Linked DNA regions of Homo sapiens: all the other regions are linked to region 4. Evidence: promoter capture Hi-C in human tissues and cell types (Jung and others, 2019). All regions are on one chromosome and are shown on one strand. Each heading gives the region's core, a stretch centred on a gene start or on the middle of the fragment in contact. The rest is flanking DNA. Distances are from core to core; before and after follow the strand shown. Region 1 holds the start of RPRD1A (regulation of nuclear pre-mRNA domain containing 1A). Region 2 overlaps SLC39A6 (solute carrier family 39 member 6). Region 3 overlaps ELP2 (elongator acetyltransferase complex subunit 2). Region 4 holds the start of TPGS2 (tubulin polyglutamylase complex subunit 2). Region 5 has its middle 18 kb from the start of RPRD1A. Region 6 holds the start of MOCOS (molybdenum cofactor sulfurase). Region 7 overlaps RPRD1A (regulation of nuclear pre-mRNA domain containing 1A).

Region 1 (3,579 bases), core at 885-3,384, 760 kb after region 4:
ATGGCGCGATCTTGGCTCACTGCAACGTCCGCCTTCCAGGTTCAAACAATTCTCCTGCCTCAGCCTCCCGAGTAGATGGGATTATAGGTGCCCACCACCATGCCCAGCTAATTTTTGTACTTTTTGTAGAGATGGGATTTCACCATGTTGGCCAGGCTGGTCTCGAACTCCTGACCTGGTGATCTACCCACCTCGGCCTCCCAAAGTGCTGGGATTACAGGCTTGAGCCACCGTGCCCTGCCCTTCCTTTTCATTTTTTGAGACAGGGTCTTGCTCTGTTGCTCAGGCTGGAGTGCAGTGGCACAATCATGACTCACGGCAACCTCTGCCTCTCAGGTTCAGGTGATCCTCCTACCTCAGCTTCCTGGGACCATAGGCGCATACCACCATGCCCAGCTAATTTTTAAATTTTTAGTAAAGACAGGGACTCACTATGTTACCCAGGTTGGTGTCTAACTCCTGGGCTCAAGCAATCCTCCCACCTCGGCCTCCCAGAGTGCTGGGATTATAGACATGAGCCACACATCTGGCCGCAAAGTTCTTGAACGATGCTTGTCAAAAGATAGTTTAGGAATTCCTATGGTTTCTTATGTATCTTTCTGGAAGTTTCTTGTATTAATATTTAGGGCCAGGCATGGTGGCTTACAACTGTATTCCCAGCACTTTGGGAGGCCGACACAGAGGAGGATTGCTTGAGCCCAGAGGTCGAGACTGCAGTGAACATGACTGAACCACATACTCCAGCCTGGGCAACAGAGTAAGACCCGGTCTCAAAAAAAATTTTAGAATATGATGGTGTATGCATTAGATTAACAATGAGATTTCTGTAATTAATTTTTAACTATATAAGTAATATATTCACGTATTCTTTTTGTAAAAATGAAAACAATATGGACACAATTTAAGGGCTCCAATTCTGATCCTCTCCCTGAGACCAGTATTCATGTGGTGTGTATTCCTCCAAACCTTTGCCATGAGTTTACGTACTTGTGAACCCATATGAACTACATACCTTTAAACAAGAAGTGGTATACTATACTTTTGCTTCTGTAATTAAAAAAAAATCCAGCTGGGCATGGTGGCTCACACCTGTAATCCCAGCATTTTGGGAGGCCAAGGTGGGAGGAATGCTTGAGCCCAGGAATTCGAGGTTGCAGTAAGCTGTGATCATGGCACTGAACTCCAGTCTGGGTGAGAGTGAGGCCCTCTCTCAAAAAGAACCTCATAAAAACCCACTCAAACCCTTCCAAATCCACCATATCTTGGATTAATCCATATTTTAAACTGCTGCATGTATTATGGAATATAGACGTATCTGTGTAGACTGCAACAGTGAATGTTCCAATTTTTCACTGTTACTGTGTTGGACTGAACACCTAGAATAAGCTTCCTGGTGCAAACATGCTGGTGTTTTTTCCAGCACTGACAGCAATTAGTGAAATTGCTAGGAAAGAGTATTCTTATAATTTTTAAATTTTTATTCATTTTTCATTTTTGTGGGTACATAGTAGGTGTATATATTTATGGAGTACATAAGATATTTTGGTACAGGCATGGCAATGCCTAATAATCGCATTATGCAAAGTTGGGTATCCATCCCTTTAAGCATTTATCCTTTGTGTTACAAACAATCCAATTATCCTTTTAGTTATTTTAAAATGTACAATTAAATTATTACTGACTCTAGTCCCCTGTCATGCTATCAAATACTAGGTCCTATTTATATTTAGTCCTTCTATTAGTCCTTCTATTTAGCCCTCCCCCACTACCCTTCCCAGCCTCTGGTCACCATCCTATACTCTATTTAGGAAGGTGTATTTTTAACCGTAATTGGTCATGCAAATAGTCTTTAAAGTGCCTGCCCCAATTTATACCAGTTTACATGCCTATGTAGAGATCTGTAATCACTGCTTCTTTGACAGAGTTTCCATTAAGGAGGGTTCAGGCCTGGCAAACTCCCACCATGCCTCTGAGAGTAACCCAGGCATCACGCCCCTGTCCGCCTCCCCTGCACTTGTTTCGACTCCGCCCCTTCCGCCTGGCGGTTCCACTTCTCGGCCGCGCGTTTTCCCAGGGCTTGCAGCGGGAGGGGCGGGGCGTGGGTCCCTGTGACGTCACTGCCGGCCGGACGCCATCTTGCTGGTTTGCGGCCGGTCTTGGATGAAGCGGCGGCCGTGGTGAGAGCGTGGGGAAGGGTGGGGTGAGGGGGCGAGGCCGCAGCTAGGGCGGCGAAACTCTCCTCCCCTCGGCCCCACCGCGTGGGACGGCGTGAACGTGGTGTCGGAGGGATGTCAGCCTTCTCTGAGGCGGCGCTGGAGAAGAAGCTGTCGGAGTTGAGCAACTCGCAGCAGAGCGTGCAGACCTTGTCCCTGTGGCTCATTCACCACCGTAAACACTCGCGTCCCATCGTCACCGTGTGGGAGCGGGAGCTGCGGAAAGGTGAGTCAACCGCTTATGTCGGCCGCTTCCCACCACCCGGCCGGCCTCCAGGCGCCCCCGGGAACCCCGTTTCTCCAGCGCCCCCGGCTTCCCGGCGTCGGGATGCCAGCGCGCGGTGGTCTGCGGGCTTGGAGGAGCTGCGTGCACCACGCTTCTGCAAAGTCTGGGCTTAGATATTTATTGAATAAAGGAATGAATAATTAAAAAAGAAAACTCCGGTTAGCTTAACACGGAAACAGTAGCAGGGGGTTGGGACTCCACACCCAATTAGGGCCAGAAATTCAGGTGGTCAGGTATTTTTTTCATTCTGTGAATGATAATGGAGGATAAGGGAGGGAGAAGGTAGGGGAGTGGAAAGAAAAAGATTGGTGTGGGTTTGGGAGTTACTTCCGTCATTTCTGTAACGCAGCAACTTATTCTTGTGAAATTAATAGAGGAATAGTTTTAGAAGTCTAATATAAGAAGATGGGTAATGCAGTGGAAAAGACTCTGAATTTGTAGATTTTAGAGGGTCTCAATTGGGCAAGTTTCTTATAACTTCTGCGTTGCAGATGCCTTACCTGAAAAGGAGAGATTTAGAGTAAGTCACCTAAAGTCCTTTCCTATTCTATGATTATATGCCCTAATGCAGTGTCTTTGTTTTGCAAAACATTTGATAGTGTTCCTGTAAATGAAGTAAACTTTTTTGAGATGTCTGTCACTAAAATATTCAGAATCAGTTCATGTATGCAGAGCAACTTTGTAAAAAATTATCCTAGTGCGACTGAAAATAAAAAATTTCATTTGCTTAGTCTGAGCTTGTACTTTAATTCTTAATTCATTGGGTAGAGTGGACACTCTTCATTATTGTTGCAAACATCCTGATGGATATGATGGTTTTTTATCAAGTGTTAAAGGTTTTAACCGTTATTAATCAAAATAGACGCTTGCTTACTGAACCTTGTGAAAGCTATATGATGTATGTACGTAACAGCCAAAATGTGAGCCAAAATGTTGGCTGTATATAATGGAGACAATCTGTCCTTGTATATTGTTTGTGGTTATGAAAACGTCACCCATCCTTGAGAAGAAATTGATTTACAGCCTTGTTTTTCAGTTTATGTGTAAGTATGTGTGTATTGGCCCTGAATGAGGAATTCA
Region 2 (3,556 bases), core at 93-2,592, 720 kb after region 4:
TTTTAAGGAATTAACTCACAGTATATCTAGCTACAAATAAAGCTAGTATACTGTCCTATAAATTTTTCTAAAAACTAATCTGTAGTTCTAAAAACTTAAATGTCACTCTTATTTTCCCTTACTTTTTTTTAAAGGTACCTGAAATGCTGCACAATGATGCTAGTGACCATGGATGTAGCCGCTGGGGGTATTTCTTTTTACAGAATGCTGGGATGCTTTTGGGTTTTGGAATTATGTTACTTATTTCCATATTTGAACATAAAATCGTGTTTCGTATAAATTTCTAGTTAAGGTTTAAATGCTAGAGTAGCTTAAAAAGTTGTCATAGTTTCAGTAGGTCATAGGGAGATGAGTTTGTATGCTGTACTATGCAGCGTTTAAAGTTAGTGGGTTTTGTGATTTTTGTATTGAATATTGCTGTCTGTTACAAAGTCAGTTAAAGGTACGTTTTAATATTTAAGTTATTCTATCTTGGAGATAAAATCTGTATGTGCAATTCACCGGTATTACCAGTTTATTATGTAAACAAGAGATTTGGCATGACATGTTCTGTATGTTTCAGGGAAAAATGTCTTTAATGCTTTTTCAAGAACTAACACAGTTATTCCTATACTGGATTTTAGGTCTCTGAAGAACTGCTGGTGTTTAGGAATAAGAATGTGCATGAAGCCTAAAATACCAAGAAAGCTTATACTGAATTTAAGCAAAGAAATAAAGGAGAAAAGAGAAGAATCTGAGAATTGGGGAGGCATAGATTCTTATAAAAATCACAAAATTTGTTGTAAATTAGAGGGGAGAAATTTAGAATTAAGTATAAAAAGGCAGAATTAGTATAGAGTACATTCATTAAACATTTTTGTCAGGATTATTTCCCGTAAAAACGTAGTGAGCACTTTTCATATACTAATTTAGTTGTACATTTAACTTTGTATAATACAGAAATCTAAATATATTTAATGAATTCAAGCAATATATCACTTGACCAAGAAATTGGAATTTCAAAATGTTCGTGCGGGTATATACCAGATGAGTACAGTGAGTAGTTTTATGTATCACCAGACTGGGTTATTGCCAAGTTATATATCACCAAAAGCTGTATGACTGGATGTTCTGGTTACCTGGTTTACAAAATTATCAGAGTAGTAAAACTTTGATATATATGAGGATATTAAAACTACACTAAGTATCATTTGATTCGATTCAGAAAGTACTTTGATATCTCTCAGTGCTTCAGTGCTATCATTGTGAGCAATTGTCTTTTATATACGGTACTGTAGCCATACTAGGCCTGTCTGTGGCATTCTCTAGATGTTTCTTTTTTACACAATAAATTCCTTATATCAGCTTGACGTCAGATGTCTGGTTTTCTTTTTAAAAAAAAATTTTTTTTACCATTGGAACCATTTTTAACTGTAGAGTTCAGTAGTTTTAAGTATATTCATGTTGTGCAATGAATCTCCAGAACTTCTTCATCCTGCAACACTGAAACTCTATACCCACTCAACGCCAACTCCCCATTTTCCCTTAGCCCCTGGTAACCACCATTCTACTTTCTGTTCCTAAAAAATTGAGCTATCTGAATTTTTAAATTATCATCTGGATTGTAGTATACTAATCAATTCATTTATAATATTGTATTGGGTGGCCTTATTCAATTTTTAAATTGTTTATCACAAAGGACACTTCAAAAAATATTGGTCCACAGTTTGTTTTCGGGTGTCTCTCTTTTTTTTTTTTTTTTTAACAACTGGACCTAAAGCTGTAGAAGAAGCATTATTAATATTCTACACTCTCAAGAGAGTCAGTGTTTTAATTCAAGATTTTTACGATGGAGAGCTTGTGATGAGACTCAATGCTTGAGAGAGACTCCAGGTATTATTATTTATAGGTCCTGGGAAGTACATGGCACATCTGGAGGCCACACACATGGAGGTCAGAGAATGCAGGCAGGGAAAGAGAGGGACATATGGGCCAGTGCCTTTATTGGGTCCAGGGCATTATTCAAACAAGTTTCCCTTGAGGAGTTTCAATTAGGTTGAAAGCAAGCAGGCATAAGTTCCAGGAGACCACTCTGTGACTGAGAGGTGGTCACTGTGACATATCCACACAGCCCATGTGAGGGTCAATGAGGCCAGACAGGCAAGCTGCATCTAGCTGTGCCATAGCAAAGTGGTTGACAGTGAGCAGCTGTATAAGGCAGCCATCTGGATGGACCACATTGAGGAACTGGGAGACATAGAACTGGAAACTGTGTCAAGGGTGACTGAGCTCTGCTTCTGTATGGGAAAGTCCAACTTATATTCCCAATGAGTGCCAAGGCCACATAAAATTATAAGCATTCACTACAATCAGTAACAAGTGGACAATACCATCCCCCCTTCATCTAGGGCTTACTGAGAGACCACGTCACCAACATTTCTGTTTCTCAGACCAAGCGAAGGGGATGGGTATCAGAATTACCTGGTTGGGGGTGCCTGCACAGATGAAATTAAGCATCCCCTTTGGTTGAATAGATTACTCTGCTTCAGAAACTCACAGACCTACCATAGTGCCACTGCTAGATCAGTGCAAGGTGAGGAAGTTCTTTTAATAACTGGAAATGCACCTCTAGGAGTGTGGTGAGCACAGAGACTTGTCCCTTCTTTCACAGAAATTCTGAAGGTAGAAGGTGTGCTGGACCAGCCCACAAAAACAGGATGAAATAGGAACTATGGTTCCCACTCCAGCTGGAACCTGTTAACGGGTATATGGAAGATTCAGATAGTCCCCATCACTCTGTGTCAGAGGATGGAGATGAGAGGAAAATGCAAAAGCTGTAGAATGTGGACCAAAGGCTGATTTTTGGGAGGGAACATAACTTGTCAGACTGGCAAAAAAAGTCACAAATAGAAATATCTTCAATGAAAAAGGAGATATAAATAGAGTAGATTCAAGCAATTATAAAAAATCAGCCTATACATTTGAGAACTTTTTGATACAGATTAGCTTTCTGGGAAAATACAAAATGTTCACTCAAGAAAAAAAAAATTATTACATCAAAATTCTCCCCTTCTCCACCCCAAACATAGGCCCAGTTTACAGTGTTTGACCAAAACTTCAAGACATAAATCCCTCATTTATCCAAATAGTTTCTGGGATTTAAAAGAGAAAGCTCATGTTAATTGAGGTTAGTGTAACCTTGATATGAAAACCACGTTAGGAAAGGCAATTTGCCTTGGACCCTGAGAGTACCTGCACTTTCCAGATATGTCGAGAATGTAAGGCCCTGACCACTCTTTGCCTTGGCCAGTTATCAGTGAGCAACCTTGAAGAATGAGGTTCTGGCTGGGCACGGTGGCTCACGCCTGTAATCCCAGCACTTTGGGAGGCCGAGGCGGATGGATCATGATGTCAGGAGATCGATACCATCCTGACCAACATGGTGAAATCCCGTCTCTACTAAAAATACAAAAATGAGCTAGGCATGATGGTGCGTGCCTGTAATCCCAGCTACTTCGGAGGCTGAGGCAGGAAAATCGCTCGAACCGGGGAGTTGGAAGTTGCAGTGAGCCGAGAT
Region 3 (3,691 bases), core at 1,145-3,644, 680 kb after region 4:
TCTTGTGTTCATGGATGTTTTCTTTTAAACACATTAGTAAAATAAGAAGAGGCCGGCTGCAGTGGCTCATGCCTATAACCCAGCACTTTGGGAGGCGGGGGGGGGGGAGGGGCGGTGCATCACCTGAGGTCAGGAGTTCGAGACCAGTCTGGCCAACATGGTGAAACCCCATCTCTACTAAAAATACAAAAAGAAGATGGGTGTGGTGGTGGGCACCTATAATCCCAGCTACTCGGGAGGCTGAGACAGGAGAATCGCTTGAACCTGGGTGGCGGAGGCTGCAGTGAGCTGAGATCGTGCCATTGCACTTCAGCCTGGGTGATGTGAAACTCTGTCCCAAGAAAAAATAAATAAATAAATAAGACATTTTACCTGTGATTGGTCTTTTCTCTTCCATGGAGCAAAAAGTCTAGTTGTCTGATCAGTACCAACAGTGATAATAAATTCTCCTTCTGGATCCCAGACTAGGTCTTGGACACCATCAAAGTGTCCTGAAATGACAATCTCTGGAGTCCACTCTCTCTGCAATGGAAGTGCTCATATCACATATCAAAATACTCAAAGACTACCACCAAAGTAAAGCACTCACGTCTGATAACAGAGAAGACTAAAGCCCTCTGGCAAGGTGAAAAGCTAAGTATACAAGATCGGATCACAGAATAATAGGATCCATTTTCCAATCAATCATGTAAGAGCTTAAGCATTCAAATATGTGTTGTATCCTTTAAATCAGTAACTGTGGGAAATTTCCCTCCATTCATCATTTATTGAGCAGCCAGATACTACTTAACCTTTCTGTGTCTCAATTATAGAATAAAACAGTTATAACAGCACCTACCTTCTAGGGTTATTATGAGGATTAAATGAGTTACTTTTGTAAAGTACACAGGACAATTCTAGTATACACTAGGTTCTATGTATTTATTAAACTAAATAAAAATTGTATAAAATGTAAAAATATTGTGTAAAACGAGTCAGTGGGTTCTGCATGTGGACCTGATGGCTTTATTAAGTAAAAAGAGTTACAGGTGTAGAGGACAGACAACTGAATCAAACCTAGTTGGTTCACCTACTAAGAAGCCTGCAACAACAACCATATAAACAAATAATGACAACAAAATATAGAAAATGTCATATGCCTGGTCCACAGAGCACCTTTTTGAACAACCTCAAGTGGGACTAAAACTTAACCTTTAGAGGAAAATTAAATGTGTATAAATAGCTAATAGGTCATTCAAAACCTAATCTGATGGATAAGTCTGTGACTAAACTATATTATGTCTGGCCAAAAAAAAAAAAAAAAAAGCCTGTGACAAAAAATGTTACTCCCTCTGTGAACAAAAACTGATTCTAAAGTTAGCACTAATGGGAGTTTACAAAAAGTTTTGAGCAATGGACAGCACTTTTGGACTAACAGTTTCCCACAGTAACAGTCCTGAAGGGCAGTGTTTGGCTTTTAAAAAATCGTCCTTGACTGTAACAATGTAGTGGGGGAGGCTACAAGTTGATGTGTGGGGGTAGAGGGACGTGGAAACTCTGTACCTTCAGATCAATTTTGCTGTTAACCTAAAACTGCTCTATAAAAAAAAAAAAGTCTATATAAAAAACAAGTCACTTTCAATACCATAAACCAATAAATGTTAAGTGTTTCCCTGAGTTCTGTGAGTCACCCCAAATTAACTGAACCTAAAGAGGGGGTCGAGGGAATCCTAACTTGAAGCTGGTCAGTCAGAAGTTCCTGAGGCCTGGACTGTGACTGCTGGGGTAGGGGCAGTCTTGGGGACTGAGCCCTCAACCTCTGGGATCTGACACTATCTCTGGGTAGAGAGTGTTGGAACTGAATTAGAGAACACCCAGCTGGTGTCTGCTGCTTGGTGTCGGGGAAGAAACCCCCACACATTTGCTCACAGAAGTTAATGATTGCTGTGGTGTAAGAGAGAGAGTTTTCCCTACATACTTAGTGAAGCAGGATTTGCTGGAAAGGCCCTGACTCACGGAATCGTGTGGTTTGGGAAGAAAAAGGATAAAAGGGTGGGGAATGAGGAATCTTTGATCATGTGCTCACCAATGGTATGAAGCTGCAGCTGTGTTGAGATCAGTTACTAAAGGTTAAAGTTACCAGTGGAATTTACGGATAGATCCAACTCCAAGAGTTGGTTCATTGGATACATAAGGAAATGCAAACTAAAAAGAAAAAAGTGAAATATTCAATCCAAAATTCAATCCCTTGGTCACTGTTATCTATAATGGCTAAAATGAAAGTACAAGAGGGTGCTGGATAAGGACTTGAGGCTGGACCCAGCTCAAAATGTGGGTGCGAGCTCAGGCCACCAGCCTCAAAGTCACCCACAAAGCAGAGAATTATGCAGGGACAACAGAAAATATTTCTAAGTCCTGTGGTTACCAAGAAGGTAGTCAATGTGGGGGAAGGGCAAAACCAAGTAACTACTGAAACCAAAGGGTGTAGTGCTAAGGAATTGTTCCATCTTATAGACTGGTATCATCAGTTTCCTGGGGAACCTTTGCTAAAGTGGACTATGAAAGTGATTAATTTAGGGGCAGTATCTTTGGTTTTAAATGCTACAGAGTGGAAGAGCATGTTTGGGTTGATGCAGGACCCACAGCTCACTAGTGAACAATCGTGGGTGGGGATATATAATCCAGACACACGGGAGATTATTCCTGAGGGAACGGCCAGCCAGGTGGACTGGATAAATGCCACTGTAAGGTCTGTTTACCCCCAAAAATGGGGACTGCCTAACATCATCTATAAATGCCAAGTGTAACACCCCAGATGGGGCAGCTAATATGCTTTGTATGCAAGCCTTGTGAGACTGGCTATGTGATGACAGGGATATTCACCTGCTGAATATGCCTGTTACCCAGATCACAGTAAATGCTATGGTTAAGGGGGTTCCTTCTACATGGGCACCCCATGTGATGGTACTCCTGCAGAATCAATAAACCGTTCAAGAAGCCTTATTAAACTTGCTGTCTCAGCTTCTCATGAGTCTTACAGATGCTAATAAAAACATTAGGTTGACAAGAAAACAGGAAAGGTAAAAGGGAGAGATTCAAAGGCAGGGTGGAAATCTTTAGATGGTTATTAAGAAACAAAGAATAAAATGGAAACTGATGGTGTTAAAACAAAGATCTTTGTTGTTTTTTTTTTTTTGAGATAGGGTCTCACTCTGTCACCCAGGTTAGAGTGCAGTGATGCAATCACGGCTAACTGCAGCCTCACCCTCCCTCCCAGGCCCAAGTGATCTTCCCACCTCAGCCTCTGAGTAGCTGGAAAAAAACCATTAAAAAACCAGAACTGGCTGGGCATGGTGGCTCAGGCCTGTAATCCCAGCACTTTGGGAGGCTGAGGAAGGTGGGTCACTTGCGGTCAGGAGTTGACCAGCCTGGCTAACATGGTGAAACTCCGTCTCTCCTAAAAATACAAAAAAAAAAATTAGCCGGGCATGGTGGTGGGTGCATGTAATCCCAGCTACTCAGGCGGCTGAGACAGGAGAATCAATTGAACCAGGGAGGCGAGAGTGCAGTGAGCCAAGATCATGCCATTGCACTCCAGCCTGGGCAACAAGAGCGAAACTCCACCTCAAAAAAAAAAAAAAAAAAAAAAACAGAACAGAACAGAAGATACTAAATGGATCTGGATGCCCAACCATCATTTCTTCAGCCCAAA
Region 4 (3,648 bases), core at 232-2,731:
GTGTTTCTTGAGAAAAGACTTATCCCAATTTCCTAACTTCCTAATTCAGCCCAGTTGTCCACAGTGCACATATTCTCTTCTGAAAGGTAAAGGAAAAAATATTTAATTTGCACACTGCACTAGTATGCTTTCATCCACAGTGTATGTACATGATTTCATTTGCTTTTCACCAACCTATCAGAGACAAATGGTAATTATGTCTAGTAAGTGCAAACACTAAACACGAGCAGCACAGAATACAAACATATCCCTCTCTCTACACATGACACTAATCCTAGTAACTCAACAAAGGAGTTGATAACACAGTTTTGTAAGTTTCACTGGGAGCTAAGAAGAATGCCCAGTGATTCTGCCAAAGGTAACAGCAACGCCTCAATTAATGCCATCACCAATCCTAGCAAACACAAAAAGAGCTGCCTCTGCAAGCACTCAGTAACACAGATTGCCGTCCCTCTTTCAAGTAACCCCTCTAAGGAACGTGAAGTAAATTATCAGGACCAAAGCTCAAGCGAGAAGAGTCTACCTACTCCAAGGAAAGAAACACTCCTGTCACACAAACATCTCATCACTGCTGCTGAACTGGTAATACTACCACTGGACTAAAAAGTTCCACTGCTTCTCCACCTCACAACGATCCAAGAACTTCAATGACTGCCAGTGACCCGCACTCCACAAGTAAGTCAACAATACTTCCAGGCACAATGATTCCCATCTTACGCAGTAACCAGCACCACCAGACCACATCCCAGTAACCAAGCTCCACACCTCTCCTAAAACCCCAGTATTAAAATACATCATCACTGGAGGGCCTTTTAAGTCCGAAAGGTCCTGACTTGCTCCTAGCAATGCAGACTAAAGACAATCCTAAATCAAAACAAAAAGGCTCCCTGTCCAGCCAACACCGACTCCTCCCTCAACTTCGAGCTAGCTCCGCACACTCAAGTCAGCCTGGGGGCACTCTGACAGGGTGGGCAGAGGGACCTCGGAGGGCCATCTCAGCCCTGGACTGAGCCTGGACTCAAGGCTATCTTTCTCGAGCTCACCGGTAGTGAGCGCTGGGAAGCATCTGAGCCGTGTCCCCACACCTGCAGACAGTACCAGTCTCTCGGCCACCTAACACCCAAGCAAGGGGAGAGCCCAGCACCTAGACTGGGGCCGAGCAGCACGTCCCCATCCCCGGGGTTAGTTCGGAGCTTCTCCTCCGCTCTCGGACTGCCACGCGACGGCTCGCCCCTCGCCGTCCCGTGGAGGGCGCCGGCGCCCCCTGTCAGGCGGGCAAAGGATACAGTCCCGGCTCCAGAACGCCGCGGCACTGGGGCGGGAGGGGCCCGCCACGTCCGCCATCTTGAAACAACCGCCACTCGGGGCGTCGCGCCTGGGCCGCCACGCCTCGGCCTGCAGGCTCGGTCCCCATTGGCCGCACCACGCAGAGGCCCGCCCCCGCCTGCGCGGCCGGCCCCTGCGGGGCGAGAGGGTGGGGGCGAAGGGGAAGCTACGTCCCGGAGGTGCGGTGTGGGGCACCGGGCGGGGCCGCGGGAACCGGCGCCCCACGGAGCTGCTGCTGTCAGACCAACCCCGGGCCCCCATCATCACTGCGCCGCGCTTTCAGGCGCCGAGAACTACCGTTCCCGGCATGCCATGAAATTGGCCTCGGCGCTGAGGCGGGGTCCGGCCCTCCACCCGCTCCCGCCGCGCGCGAATCGCGGTCGCGAGCCATGGAGGAGGAGGCATCGTCCCCGGGGCTGGGCTGCAGCAAGCCGCACCTGGAGAAGCTGACCCTGGGCATCACGCGCATCCTAGGTGAGGAAAGGGGGCACGGTGCCGAGAGGGTGTGGAGGAGAAGGAAGGAGGAGCGGAGGGATGAGGTGCGGGGTGAGCGGTGCGACGCTGGCCCCAGAACAGGAGTGGACATCGCTGCTGGGACTTCCGTTGTTACAGAGGAAAGTGGGGGACCTGGGTTTGTGATTAGGCCTTGAAAGTGTTTGCCAGGAGTGTTCGGAGGCAGAGCTGGGAAGCCTGAAGTTTCCCCCACTCACCGCCAACCAAGGTCCCACCCAGGAAGGACGGGCAGAGACGTGCAAAGGGAACACAGCAAGCACCTGACGGTTGGGAAGTTGGATCTCCCCCTAGGAGGCATTCTCAGCCAGGGCATTATCCCCGAAACCCAAGACCTTTCTCTGGGGGAAGTAATGCACCCGACCTCCCAGGGCGACAACTACGTCGGGTCTGAAAGGAATCCAACCTTGCACCACTGAATGACTCAGAGTTTTTCTTTTATCGAACATTTCTTTGTTTGCTTGCTTGTTTGTATTTTGAGACAGAGTTTTGCTCTTGTTGCCCAGGCTGGAGTGCAATGGCGCGATCTCGGCTCACTGCAACCTGCGCCTCCTGGGTTCAAGCAATTCTCCTGCCTCGCCCAGCTATTTTTTTGTATTTTTAGTAGAGACAGGGTTCCACCATGTTGGCCAGGCTGGTCTCGAACTCCTGACCTCAGGTGATCCACCCGCCTCGACCTCCCAAAGTGCTGGAATTACAGGCGTGAGCCACCGCGCCTGGCCTATCAAACGTTTCTTTAGTACTCACCACTATGTTAGACGTGAGGTTAAAAATATGAAAAAGACACAGTTCTGTGAAAAAAATAAACAAATGAGGTCACTAGGAGTGTGAAAAGAGGTCAGTAATCTGTTACTCAGAGATGTCACAGAGGAGGGGACTGATCTTACCAGGGAAGTTAAAGAACATGTCACAGAGGAGATGATGCTAGATTTTGAAAGACATATAGGAGTTAGCCAGAAAACTAAGGAGGAGAAAGGTCTTTTAAGAAGGCTGAAAAGCATGCTTCAGTGCCTTCCCATCACAATTATAATAAAATCCAAATGTCTGTACCATGACCCACAAGTCCCTGTAAGATCTGCTCTCATCTCTTTCTGACTTTGTTTCCACTCTTGCCCACATGGCCTTCTAGCTGTACCTTAAACACACTAAGCGGGTTCCTGCTTCAGGGCTTTTGCAGTTTGCTAGTCCTTGCACCTGGAATTATCTTTCTCTGAATGTCTCGCTTCTTCAGGTCATTCAGATCTCTGATCAAATGTCATTATTTCAGAGAAACCTTCCCTGAATATAGTTCGAATAACCGCCGTCTTTCTTGCTCTCTCTTTCCTTACCCTGCTTTTTCTTTTATTCTTATAGCACTTTCACTACTTGAAATTATGTATTTGTTTGGTTGATTTTTAAAATTTGTGTCTCTTTTAATAGAAGTCCAAGACCAAGTGTGATTTAGGAATGAGTGGTTTTAACATATGAAAATCAATTAATAGCTGGGCATGGTGGCCCATGTCTTTAGTTCCAGCTACTGGGGAGGCTGTGGTGGGAGGGTTATTAGAGCCCAGTTCAAGTCCAGCTGGACAACATAGCAAGACCCTGTCACTAAAAAAAAAGAAACTTAAAAAAAATCAATTAATATAATACAACTTACTAATAGAATAAGACAAAAACTGCATAATCATCTTAATAAAAAAAGCATTTGACAAAATCTAACCTTTCTTGATTAAAAAAAACTCAACAAACTAGAAATAGGATGGGATAGAGATAGAATTTCCTCAACCTGATGAAGGACATCTATGAAAAACCCACATCTAACATCATATG
Region 5 (4,111 bases), core at 167-2,666, 740 kb after region 4:
CCCAAGTAGCTGGGATTATAGGCACCTGTCACCACGCCTGGCTAATTTTTGTATTTTTAGTAGAGATGAGGTTTCACCATGTTGGCCAGGCTGATCTCGAACTCCTGGCCTCAAGTGATCTGTCTGCCTTGGCCTCCCAAAGTTCTGGGATTACAGGCATTAGCCACCGTGCCAAGCAGCCACCATGCCCGGCTCCCAATGTGTAGCCTTTCATCCTTCACCCTCCCTTCCTGACCTTCCCCCAACAGTCCCCAAAGTCCATTATATCATTCTTACGCTTTTGTGTCCTCATAGCTTAGCTCCCTCTTACAAGTGAAAACATATGATATTTGGTTTTCCAACCCTGAATTACTTCCCTTAGAATAATGGTCTCCAACTTTATCCAGGTTGCTGCAGATGCCATTACTTCATTGCTTTTTATGGCTGAGTAGAATGCCACATTTTCTTTATCTACTCAGTTAGTGGGCGTTTAGGCTGATTCCATATTTTTACAATTGTAAATCGTGCTGCTATAAACATGCTTGTGCAAGTGTCTTTTTCATGTAATGACTTCTTTTTCTCTGGGTAGGTACCCAGTAGTGGGATTGCTGGATCAAATAGCAGTTCTACTTTTAGTTCTTCAAGGAATCTCCATACAGTTTTCCATAGTGATTGTACTAGTTTACATTCCCACAAGCAGTGTGAAAGTGTTCCCTTTTCACCACATCCACGATACCATCTGTTATTTTTTGATATTTAAATTATTGTCATTCTTGCAGAAGTAAGGTGGTTTCACATTGTGGTTTTGATTTGCATTTCCCTGATAATTAGTGATATTGAGCATTTTTTATATGTTTGTTGGCCATTTGCATATCTTCTTTTGAGACTTGGCTGTTCATGTCCTTTGCCCACTCTTTGAAGGGATTATTATTTTTTTTCTTGATGATTTGTTTGAGTTTCTTGTAGATTCTGGATATCAGTCCTTTGTTGGATGTATAGTTTGCTAATATTCTCTCCCACTCTGTGAGTTATCTTTTTACTCTGCTGATTATTTCTTTTCTTCTTCTTCTTTTTTTTTTTTTTTTTTTTTTTTGACAGTCTCACTCTGTCAACCAGACTGGAGTGCAGTGGTGGCACAATCTCAGCTCACTGCAACCTTAGTCTCCTGGGGTCAAGCGATTCTCATGCCTTAGCCTGCCAAGGAGCTGGGACTACAGGCATGAGCCACCACACCCTGTTAATTTTTGGAGTTTTAGTAGAGACGGGGCTTCGTCATATTGGCCAGGCTGGTCTCAAACTCCTGACCTCAAATGATCCACCTACCTTGGCCTCCCAAAGTGCCGGGATTACAGGAGTGAGCCACCGTGTCCAGCCTTCTGCTGATTATTTCTTTTGCTGTGCAGAAGCTTTTTAGTTTAATTAGGTCCCATTGTTATGGAATCATTGGAGTGTTGCTTTTTGGCTAGAAACCTCTGTGGCTGGTGGCACCTTTGCCCAAGTTTTGCTCAAACTCACTAGGCTCATTTTGCCCACTCAGCCTGGTAGGCTGCGCTCAGCTCACACTACCGGCCTGGATCACATGCCTCCCAAAGGCCCGGATCCCATGTCTGCTAAGGGTGAGTCAGGCATGGAACAGTGAGGGGTATGTGAGCAAGCATGGGGTCTGGCCACTGTGTACAGTCAGACATGCCAGCTGCTACAGCGGGGCAGGCGGCTCCACATGCTGGCATGGGCACCAGCTCTCTGCGAGGCTGTGGCCAGACCAGGCTCACTGCAAGCAGCTTCCATGGCTGGCAGTGGGGAACGTGGTGATACCCGGAAGCTTGGAGATGCCAGAAACCACAGAGCCCCAAAGAGGCAGTCATAGTTATGGCTCAGGGAGCTCCCAGGTATGGGCTCCCCGAAGGGCTGCAGCTCTTCTCTCCTTCTCTTTGCCTACAACACGGTGAGCAAGAGGCATGCTTCAGTCCTGTTTGTGCTACAGCTTTTTTACCCTTGACATTCAGCAAGTTCCAAGTTGTTGTCCTGCAACCAGGAAGAATGAGGTATGCAGGTAAGTGAAGGGTGAGCAAGATGAAAAGGAGCTTTATGAGCAATAGGACAATTCAGAGGAGCCCCGCAGGGAGCAGCTCCTTTCTGCATCCAGGGTGTCCTGTCAAATGTTCAGCTTTTAGCAGAGAGGGTAGCTCCTCTCTGCAGGCAGGTCATCCCAACAAGTGTTCAGCTCCCAGCAGAGAGGGTACCTCCCCTCTGCAGCTGGTCGTCTTGTCATCTGTCCAGCTCTGGCTGACCCCGGGGCTTTTATGGGCCTCAGAGGGGAGGAAGTGTGTGCTGATTGGTCCATGGGTGGCCATGGATGGGCCCAGAAAAAAGACACCACAAGTTTTCATTCCGGCGCTCAGGACTCGCAGCCCAGCCCCCAGCCTTCAAGCCCTCCCTGGCCTGAAGGTGGGGTCTCACTAGGGATCCACCCTTTTTCACCCAGAAGCCTGTCTCCCTCCTGCCACCATCCATGGCATCTAGGGTGCAGAGTGCGAGAGCTTGAGTCCTGCTCCTGGGAGGGTGGGCCTCCTGCTTGCACCATGGAGCATGCAGGCATCCCCAGCTGTGCCTCCATGCAGCCTGGGGTGGCAGCTCCAGGTCCTCGCTGGGCCCCTCTCTGCCCACCCCTCCATGCCCAACTGTGCTGCTCCCCCACAGCGGGGGGCTCCACCCAGCCCCATCATAGCAGCCTATCATGGCAGGCTCCAGGGAGCTCCCGCTGGTCCCTGATTCTAGCTGGCCTCAGGCCCAGCTCTGCCACCTCATCAGGCCTTCCCTGCAATGGCAGTAGGTGACAGCAGTGACGCAGGGCCAGGGTCCAGAGTGGCAGAGCCTCTGGGCCTGGAATAGGTCTTGCCTGGCCATGCAAGGGTGGGGGCAGTGCAGTTGGCTGCCTCAGGAACACTGGGCACAGGGGACCCACTGCTGCTGTTGCTGCTTTTGCAGCTGCTCCTGCCGCTACCACCCGCGCCCCCCCTCTGTAGCCCATGTGACAGCAGCGGCCACTCTAGATGGCCTGCATCTGCCATTACCATCTATTTATCTTTGTTTTTGTTGTATTTGTTTTTGGATTCTTGGTCGTGAACTCTTTGCCTAAGCAAATGTGTATAAGTTTTCCCGATGTTATCTTCTAGAATTTTTATGATTTCAGGTCTTAGATTGAAGTTTTTGATCCATCTTGAGTTGATTTTTTTGTATAAGGTGAGAGACGAAGAACCAGCTTCATTCTTCCTCATGTAGCTTCCCAATTATCCCAGTGCCATTTATTGAATAGGGTGTCCTTTCCCCACTTTATATTTTGGTTTGCTTTGTTGAAGATTAGTTGGCTATAAATATTTAGCTTTATTTCTGGGTTCTCTATTCTGTTTCATTGGTCTACTTGCCTATTTTTATACTAGTGTCATGCTGTTTTGGTAACTATAGCCTTGTAGTATAGTTGGAAGACAGGTAATGTGATGCCTGTAGATTTGTTCTTTTTGCTTAGTCTTGCTTTGGCTTTGCAGGGTCTTTTTTGGTTCCCTATGAATTTTAGGATGATTTTTTTCTAGTTCTGTTAAGAATGATGATGGTATTTTGATAGGAATTGCATTGAATTTATAGATTGCTTTTGGCAATATGGGTATTTTCACAATATTGATTCTACCCATCCATGAGCATTAGATGTGTTTCAATTTGTTTGTGTCATCTATGATTTCTTTCAGCAGTGTTTTGTAGTTTTCCTTGTAGAGATTTTTCACCTCCTTAGTTAGATATATTCCTAAGTATTTTTTCTTTCTTTCTTTCTTTCTTTCTTTTTTTTTTTGAAGCTGTTGCACAAGGGGTTGAGATCTTGATTTGGTCCTCTGCTTGGTTATTGCTGGTGTACAGCATTGCTACTGATTTGTGTATATTGATTTTGTATCCTGAAACTTTACTGAATTCATTTATCAGATCTAGGAGCTTTTTGAATGAATCTTTATGGTTTTCTAGGTATACGACCACATCATCAGCAAACAGTGACAGTTTCATTTCCTCTTTACTGATTTGGATGCCCTTTATTTCTTTCTCTTGTCTGATTGCTTTAGATAGAACTTCCAGTACTATGTTGAAC
Region 6 (3,749 bases), core at 43-2,542, 640 kb after region 4:
AGGAGACACACAGGAGGAGGCCACAGTTCTCACAGCCCCCAAAGGGAAAACACAGTTACCCTCCACAACACCAGGAAGTGACCCGAAGCGCTGAAATCAGCTACCCGAGTAGTGAAACCTAAGTCATGGTTGCTGTTCTGCCCCCAGAAGGGGAGCAGTCACCAGTTGTTCATCGCGACAGAGCAGATACACTCAAACCCCGGTGCCCTGTGCCAAGACGTGCCCACTTCACCTGCACACCCTCCTTGACCATCCGGCACGCGGCCCTGGGGCTTGATGAAGCCCTGCACCCAAAGTCCCTGGCAGAGGGATGAGTCACGAACTTGGGCCCTGGCAGCAGAGGGCTGGGTCGGCCAAGGCCAGATGGAGCTTGATTTGCAATTTCATCAGCCTGTTCCGCTCTGAGGAAAGGCACGATGTGATCTTGGTGTTGTCTAATTCACAGGCTCGCCCTGTTCTTAAAGGTGAAATTGCACTGTTTGCTAATTCTTCTAGTCCCCCAGAGAACTGGAGCTCAGAGGGATTGTTCTGACGCTGTAAGAGTAAGGAAAATGAGGTTTCGAAAATCAAAGCTGAATACAGGCTATCCCAGAGGAGTCTGCAGAGCGCAGCCTCGGGAGGCCCCGGCCAAGAGGCCTTGGCCTCCCGGTCCCAACCTGGCGCGCCGTCAGAGGTGCTGTCCCAGCCCGGGCGCTGGCGGTCCACGCACCGCTCCTACCTCGGGAGGACATCCGAAGGGTCACGGCCGCTGGACATGCTGTCTTTTGCAACCCCGGCCCCAGCAGGCCCTTTACAGTGAGGGGTCTCCCGCAAGAGAGGGCAAGAACCATCCTAAGCCCCGCTCGCGGAGGGCGGGAAAAGGGGAAGACGGCTAGGTTGGTCCTGCCCACCGGAAAGTCGGAAGAGTAAGAGTAGCAAGAAGCCTTGGGGCTGCAGGTGGGACCTCAGGGAGCCGTGTCTACTAGGAGGACGCGTGGACACGTCCCTCCTGGAGTTTCGATTCAAAATGCGCCCGAATGAGGTAGCGCCGCTCTCACTAGGAGCAAAAGATCCGTCCACGTCGGTTCCAGAAACCTCGTGTCCCCCAAGCCTGCCCGCCCGCCTCACCTGCCAGGCGGCTGAACTCGCGCGCCCGCAGCTCGCGCAGGCTGCCCGGGCCGTAGCCGTAGGCTAGCCGCGGTGCGCTCGGGTCCCGGGAACCCGCGAAGGTCCACAGCTCCCGCCCTGACTCCGCCGCCGCGCCGGCCATGGCCCCGGCTAGTCCATCCAGGCCGGCCGGGCCCGGGAAGTGCGCGAAGCCGGCCCCCGGCGACTCCGCCCCCGCCACGCCTCCCAGGCCTCCAGCCTCCCAGTCTCTCGGAATCCGCAGCCTAGGTGTGGCGCCCCGACCGGACTTTCACTTCTGGCCAGCCCTTTCCCCACCTGGGCGCGGGAGCGGGTGCCAGTCTTTAAACAACCTCTCGATGGGTCCCACGAAGATGTTTCCAGACCCTTGGAATGCCAAGTTCAAGTTTAGCTATGTCTCGCGGAGAGGCCGGTGGAAGAAGCAACGAGGTGATCTTTCCTGCTTGGCATCGGCATCCTGGAACCCCGCGACCCTCCTCCTCGCAGGGGTCTCGGGACCCTCACCCTCTCAAGCGGGAACCGGCGTCTGGCGGGGGCGGGGGTGGGGGCGTTCTCGGGTTGCTGCTACCCAGCGGGGCGTGTGCTTGCCGTTTGTTAGAATGCGGCTGACCAAAGGGTAGAAAAGGGGAAAGATTAGGGATCCACGAGGCTAATAAATTCTCAGTGGCTGCACACTTTCGGAACCGGGAAGCTCGGGGGCTTCCCCCGGAGCGGGCCCTGCAGCTGGGATCCAAGTGAGCTGAGCTTCCCCGCCCTCCCAACCGCGTCCTGGGCCCTACTTCCTGCCCTTGCCTCCCCAACCCTGCATCCCGCCCCGCACTTCCCGCACGTGGGTGTGGCCGGGCCCTCTCTATTAAAGCAAGAGTGCCCTAGGACAAAGCCGCCCCTGTCCCGGACAGAGTGGAATAAGAGCGCCTCCTTCAATCCCCACTCGCGCCTGCACCCAGAGCACCTGGGACACAGCGGCTCTGTCTTGGAGAACAGGTGCCTCAATAGGGAGGGCCTGGCCAAACCTATGCGCGGGAAGTGCGGAGCGGGATGCAGGGGTGGGGCGGCAGGTGCAGGTAGTAGAGCCCAGGCATGCGGTTGGGGGGTGGGGGGAAATCTCACGTGCGATCCCAGGTGCGGAACCCGCTGCTGGGAATGGGGTGGAAGCAAAACAGGTACTGCACGCACAGGCGAGGTGCCTCGTGGGGGAATCGAATGTCAGGGATGGTGGACAGTGCGGATGGGCGGCAGGTGCTGGGGCTCAGGGGAGATAACTCAGAGGCAGGCTCGGTGGAGAACCCAAGGCCGGCGACCAGGTGCAGGCGGCCCACAGGCCCTGGAGGCATACAGCGGGGGGACAAGGTGGGAAGGAGGCCTATGCCCCAAGAGCTCAACCTGTGCTGCATCCAGGCCAGCTGCCACCCAGGGTATGGGCCGCAGATGCCCTAGGATCCTTGCTGATGCATGATGCATACCGGTGCCCAGCGTGAGAGCCATGGGAAGGCAGCACGCAGCCCTGGCTCTCCCGCCCAGGCCCCTGATACCAGGCCAGAGAAAGACCCGCCACTAAGAGCTCATTTCCCCCTGGCCGGAGACCCAGGGGTCTGTGGACTGCAGCGCTAGGGTCCATGCCCAGGTACCCATATTCCTCAGTGGCCTCTGCCCACTGACCACCCCCGCTCTCTCCCTCACTGCTGAATGTCCAGGACCTTACTCGACAAACACCCATAGTTGTTCGAGGAGGAGTTAATGTACTGATGGATGGATGCAGGCATTTGCTCATTGACATCACTGCCCACCCCACCATCTGCTTGCCTTCTGGCCATGCTTCAAGCAGGCACTTTGGATACTGGACTGTCTTCTGTGAATGTGGCTTTGGGCAGCACTAATAACAAGAGCTAGTTACAGGGCCTCACTGTGTGCCAGGCACTGCACTGTGTACACTCTTACCTGTCCTGGTCGTTCAATGATTAAATATGCAGATCTAGGAGGTGGCTCTTACAGATGGGGAAGCTGAGGCAGAGAGAGGCAGAATAACTTGCACACGGGCACACAGCTAGAAGACAAGCTAGCACCTGGGAAGTCAGTCTCCAGAGCCCAGGCAGGGAAGTGTGTTTTGCTAACTCTCTGGTGTGAGCCACCGTGGTTCCCAGGGCCTCAGTTTCCCCATCTAAGTTGAGAGGGGTGAGTTGGTCCTCCCAGCAGCTGTTCAGTGTGTCACTCCTCACCCATCCTTTTAAAGCCCTGCTTCCTGGTGAGAGTCTCCCCTAGGCCAGGGTTTCCAGGCATTCATTTGCATGAATCCCCTAGAGAGCCTATTCAAAGGCAGGTTCTGACTCTTTGAGGTTCTGTGTTTCTAAGTAGCCCAGGTGATGCTGATGCCCCATTCACGAATGGCACTCTGAGGAGGGAGGGCCTAGGTCATTTCCCTGGAAATGTAAGGAGAACCTCTCCTCAAGGAGTTCTACAGCCAACTAACAAACCACCAGTCCACAGGGGTGCTGCTTCAGACAAGCTCGCCTAGTGATGGATTGGAATAGGCCAAGTCAGTGCAGAACTCCTGAAGGTTATTAAAAATCACGGATCTACCATTAATCCAGAAATACTTTAAAGCAGTTGGCTATGCCCATCTAGGG
Region 7 (3,944 bases), core at 810-3,309, 800 kb after region 4:
TCCTCTAGTACTTGTGTAAAATGCTGTTGCTCTTTGTTTTATAATGATCGTTTTTTAGATTAGTTGTGCTGCTTAATTATCAATGGTTCAGCTTTGTGGTCTTCATTTTTGTGTGTGTGTTATTCTTTATAAGAATGGCTAAAATCTCTTTGTAGGTTCCCGTTAAACTCATTTCATTCTCCTCTGGTAGGAAGTAGTAGGCTTAGTATTGTTTCAGACAACTTTGCTTTCTTATCTGATGCTTGATCAGGCATTGGGAACTTAGAATGTACTCATGTAGGACTGTGAAGGTGTGATGAGATCAGGTTGTAATTAAAGCATCAATGCATTGCCAAGACAATAAAGCCAGATTTCTTCTTAGAACTCCAGACAATTAGAATTTTCTAAGAATGATTTTAAAAATAATATATTAGTTGTGGCAAGATGAGAAACAAGCTTTCTGGTAATTGTTGTTACTCTTAAGCACACCTTAATTGTAGAGGGGATATATCTTACAACAAAATTATTTTTTAAAATACTGAAATTTTAAACACTTCTAATGAGTGAGCACACGTAGGATAGTATATTTCTTATTAGTTTCATTCATTCCTACCACATTTGATCATTTGTCATGTGCTACCCTTTTTTTCAAGGGAATAGTTTAAAAATCTTAATATATACACAGAATTACTAATATCCTATATTTTTTAAAGCATATGTGTAATTTCCTAGTGTTTCTGAATCTAGTATTAGAAATTAAGAAAGAAAGATGAAAAAGATGGGCTGGAGAATGGAAACTAGTAAAAATAAAATTTAATTGTTTTTCTTTGGAATAACTTTATAGACATTATGAGTTGTGAAATCACCAGCAAAGAGTTGCGCTTCCCTCCTAATTATAGCTTGTATGAAAACAGTGGAAGTAAAATATTTTAATGATAAAATAATTTCAGTACTGGTTAAGCAATATATATTAGTCATCAGATTATGGAATTTTGAAATATTTTAATCTTATTAACAAGCCATAGGATACTTGAAGATATCATATTTGAACATATTCTAGAACTACATTTCTCTTGGGCTTTAATTACAGCATTTAGAAATGAAATCTGGGAGACTCTTCTGTGTTGTAGTAGATGATTTGTAACCCTCTTTCCATAATATCCAATTTAATACTAAAAAAACTTCTAGTGTACAATGATAATGTAATGAATATATCATACATAAAACTTGTATTCTCTAGGTTGATGTTATAGCCTACCTTCTCTTTCACCACTGATGTATTTGCCATATAAATCCTCATTACCTCATTTTAGTACTCAAATAATTATTATTACTCTGTCTCCACCACTGGAGTAAGCTCTCTTCAAGGTCTAGGGCCTTGTCCTGTTTATATTTTCAACACCTAACATAGTATAGCCTCCTTTTTTCTTAACATATGAAAGAAATTGATTGTCTTCAAAAGCAGTTTATATTAGGAGCTTTGTACTAGTAAATAGCCCATAGGGATGAAAGAATATGAAATTAAAGTCTTTTGCACTTGTTTAAGCTCAATTTATTTTGGTTCTGAAGTTGTGTACTTTTTAGACTCTAGATCTCGTTAGAGCATTACAAGATCTGGAAAATGCAGCCTCAGGTGATGCAGCAGTTCATCAGAGGATAGCTTCTTTACCTGTTGAAGTCCAAGAAGTATCTCTATTAGATAAAATAACAGGTAAGAAAAGAAAATGTGATCCAGAACTTTTTTGGGAGTTGGGATGAGAGAACAGCATATGTCATTGTTTTTGTTGTATAATATTTTATTATCCCGTGCTTTTCTTAGATAAAGAATCTGGAGAAAGGCTTTCCAAAATGGTAGAGGATGCGTGTATGTTGCTGGCAGATTACAATGGCAGATTGGCGGCAGAAATAGATGATAGAAAGCAACTCACTCGAATGTTAGCAGATTTTCTTCGTTGTCAAAAGGAAGCCCTTGCAGAGAAAGAGCATAAATTGGAAGTGCGTAACCTTTTTCTTCTTTAGTGCTTATTTATTTAATTCTCTTTTTGTTAGGAATTTTAAAATATTTTAATCTATGTGCACATTTTGCATTTTTTAACATAGACCTTTTTAAGCAGTAGCCCAGGTAAGCTTCTCCTTGTATTAATGGTTTTTCTTCTACTTGAACCAAATTAATCTTGCAAGTAAACTTAGAAATTTGGAATTAGCAAAATTGATTGCATTTAAAAATTATTCTTGTGAAATTCCATGCAACTATAATTTATCTTACCAGTTTAACCCTAATGTATCACAGAAATAATAGGAAAATAGCAGGTGGCAGTCACTTGTAGTAGGATTTATTTAGTTTCTGTTTTGAGAAGATGTAGTCTTTTAGGTATACCATTAAGTCTTTAAATTACTCCCTTAATTCCACCCGCCAATTCTAATGCTTACATGTTCCAGCCCCACTCCCGGCTCACACTCTTAGGCAGAAATTCATTGCTCCTGTAAATTAAGTAATAATTAATACCGCTAATGAGAAATCTGGGAGTACAGGAGGTGATTTTAAAAAATGCTCGTATTTCCTTTGATTAGAGTAGCAATTGTTAGGGATACATGAGCCAGATTTGGTTTTATGTAAAAAAAATCTTTCAGTTGATGAGTTCTTGTTTAAATTGTATTGCTGTGGCAATTTCTTATTGTAATAATATGTAGGAGAATTTCTAATTTGAATCCCTTTATTTACAGAAAGCTCACTGTAAATTTGTAGGAATGTCATGGTACTACCCCATTAAGTTATTTTTATTAGTGTTTAGTTATTGATTCAGCAGTCTCTAATTGTGCCAAAAATGGTGCTTAGATTAGATTGCCATTGCTACCCATGGGAGCTGCTACTTAATTATTCCCACCTCAAATTCCCAGCTCTCAAGTTAGCACTACTCCTTTGCAATTTACTCCTTCTCTGCTCGTATAAATACCCTCAGATGATGATAGTTGGTGGCCACTATACCTTTGAAGAGGTTGCCCACTTCTACATGGAAAGGAAAAGATGGTTTTTTTTTTTAAAAGATGAATTTGATAATTAACTTGCCACTATTTCACCTTGTGATGAAACCTCAATTTTAAACATAGTGTTAATTGTTTTATTGTCCACAGAATTAAGGGTAAGTAATGTCATACAATTTTTGTCTTTAGTCTTTTAGTATGGTTTCTTTAACTTCTATTGAGCTTCTGTTGCAGATATTGGACATGGGCGTATCTTCTAACGATGTCGTCACCATTAGTATATTCTTCCTGCTAAAAATAAATATCAAACCCTGAAGCCTGTATTGTCTCATGTTTTTGAAAATTGAAGAGAAGACTGTAACTTTATTCTGCTTTATACTTTCTCACTTATGATGATGGTCATTTGTCACTGTTTACAAAAACAGAATTTATATTTGAAGTGTAACTGTAGAAAATAGATCAGATGCCACTCCCCACAACCCCCTTTTCCCCCAGTGCCTTCCAGCCACATTTCATAGTTGACAGTCATAGATTATGAGGCTGATGATAATAATAATGTTAACATTCATGTGTCAGGTACTATTCTAGGCACTTCACATAAGCAACTCATTTAATCTTACACAGCAGGATGTATTATCCACATTTGATAGATACAGAACTGAGGCACAGGAAGATTAAGTAACTTGCCTAAGGTCACAAAGAGCTAGTGAGTTGTTTGGAACGCAGAGAATCTGCCTCCAGAGCCAGTGCACTTCATCAAAAAGACACATTGCTTCCTGTTTTTACTTAAATCTAAGATTAAAGCAAATGCTAAAGTCCTATTTTTTCCAACTTTTTCTGCTCCCTCTCTTCTCAGAGGTAATCACTGTCTTGAAATAAAGCCTTCTAGGAACTTTTTTTGTTGTTCTTCTGCATAACTGGATTTTATATTATAAAGAAGAAATCACCTCAATTATGTTCAGCTGTTTTTTAACAAGTAAATA

Evidence for each region. The method cuts DNA at HindIII sites, captures the fragments that hold promoters and counts their contacts. A contact is called where the count stands out against the background at its distance.
Region 1: the fragment with the promoter of RPRD1A here is called in contact with the fragment with the promoter of TPGS2 in region 4 in 1 of the 25 tissues and cell types used here (IMR-90 fibroblasts).
Region 2: a fragment that was not itself captured here is called in contact with the fragment with the promoter of TPGS2 in region 4 in 1 of the 25 tissues and cell types used here (bladder).
Region 3: a contact is called between a fragment that was not itself captured here and the fragment with the promoter of TPGS2 in region 4, in 1 of the 25 tissues and cell types used here (lymphoblastoid cells).
Region 5: a fragment that was not itself captured here is called in contact with the fragment with the promoter of TPGS2 in region 4 in 1 of the 25 tissues and cell types used here (spleen).
Region 6: a contact is called between the fragment with the promoter of MOCOS here and the fragment with the promoter of TPGS2 in region 4, in 1 of the 25 tissues and cell types used here (IMR-90 fibroblasts).
Region 7: a contact is called between a fragment that was not itself captured here and the fragment with the promoter of TPGS2 in region 4, in 1 of the 25 tissues and cell types used here (spleen).

Annotation. Positions count from the first base shown.
Region 1 is chr18:36,066,114-36,069,692 of GRCh38, reverse strand. It overlaps RPRD1A (regulation of nuclear pre-mRNA domain containing 1A), which reads left to right and starts at 2,134. Exons shown (of 7, transcript NM_018170.5): 1 at 2,134-2,439. The coding sequence starts at 2,289. RefSeq lists enhancers at 1,955-2,184, 1,896-2,411, 2,295-2,434. The HindIII fragment of the contact is 14,008 bases long and covers 1-3,579 here.
Region 2 is chr18:36,106,324-36,109,879 of GRCh38, reverse strand. SLC39A6 (solute carrier family 39 member 6) reads left to right here. Exons shown (of 10, transcript NM_012319.4): 10 at 135-1,349. The coding sequence ends at 287. Among named protein-coding and RNA genes, the nearest start is that of SLC39A6, 21 kb to the left of the region's middle. The HindIII fragment of the contact is 4,534 bases long and covers 1-3,556 here.
Region 3 is chr18:36,151,681-36,155,371 of GRCh38, reverse strand. It overlaps ELP2 (elongator acetyltransferase complex subunit 2), which reads right to left. Exons shown (of 22, transcript NM_018255.4): 12 at 373-522. Among named protein-coding and RNA genes, the nearest start is that of ELP2, 24 kb to the right of the region's middle. The HindIII fragment of the contact is 6,175 bases long and covers 1-3,691 here.
Region 4 is chr18:36,826,835-36,830,482 of GRCh38, reverse strand. TPGS2 (tubulin polyglutamylase complex subunit 2) reads left to right here and starts at 1,481. Exons shown (of 7, transcript NM_015476.4): 1 at 1,481-1,800. The coding sequence starts at 1,716. KIAA1328 reads right to left here and starts at 1,356. Exons shown (of 10, transcript NM_020776.3): 1 at 1,287-1,356. The coding sequence starts at 1,344. RefSeq lists a silencer at 1,122-1,721 and enhancers at 1,119-1,911, 2,012-2,121. The HindIII fragment of the contact is 11,405 bases long and covers 1-3,648 here.
Region 5 is chr18:36,083,896-36,088,006 of GRCh38, reverse strand. No RefSeq gene overlaps it. Among named protein-coding and RNA genes, the nearest start is that of RPRD1A, 18 kb to the right of the region's middle. RefSeq lists enhancers at 1,142-1,695, 2,804-3,358. The HindIII fragment of the contact is 5,618 bases long and covers 1-4,111 here.
Region 6 is chr18:36,185,040-36,188,788 of GRCh38, reverse strand. MOCOS (molybdenum cofactor sulfurase) reads right to left here and starts at 1,292. Exons shown (of 15, transcript NM_017947.4): 1 at 1,108-1,292. The coding sequence starts at 1,249. COSMOC (cell fate and sterol metabolism associated divergent transcript of MOCOS) reads left to right here and starts at 1,354. Exons shown (of 2, transcript NR_134605.1): 1 at 1,354-1,554. RefSeq lists silencers at 1,190-1,379, 1,225-1,488 and an enhancer at 2,248-3,070. The HindIII fragment of the contact is 25,317 bases long and covers 1-3,749 here.
Region 7 is chr18:36,024,930-36,028,873 of GRCh38, reverse strand. It overlaps RPRD1A (regulation of nuclear pre-mRNA domain containing 1A), which reads left to right. Exons shown (of 7, transcript NM_018170.5): 5 at 1,564-1,690; 6 at 1,799-1,974. Among named protein-coding and RNA genes, the nearest start is that of RPRD1A, 41 kb to the left of the region's middle. RefSeq lists a silencer at 3,534-3,828. The HindIII fragment of the contact is 4,412 bases long and covers 1-3,944 here.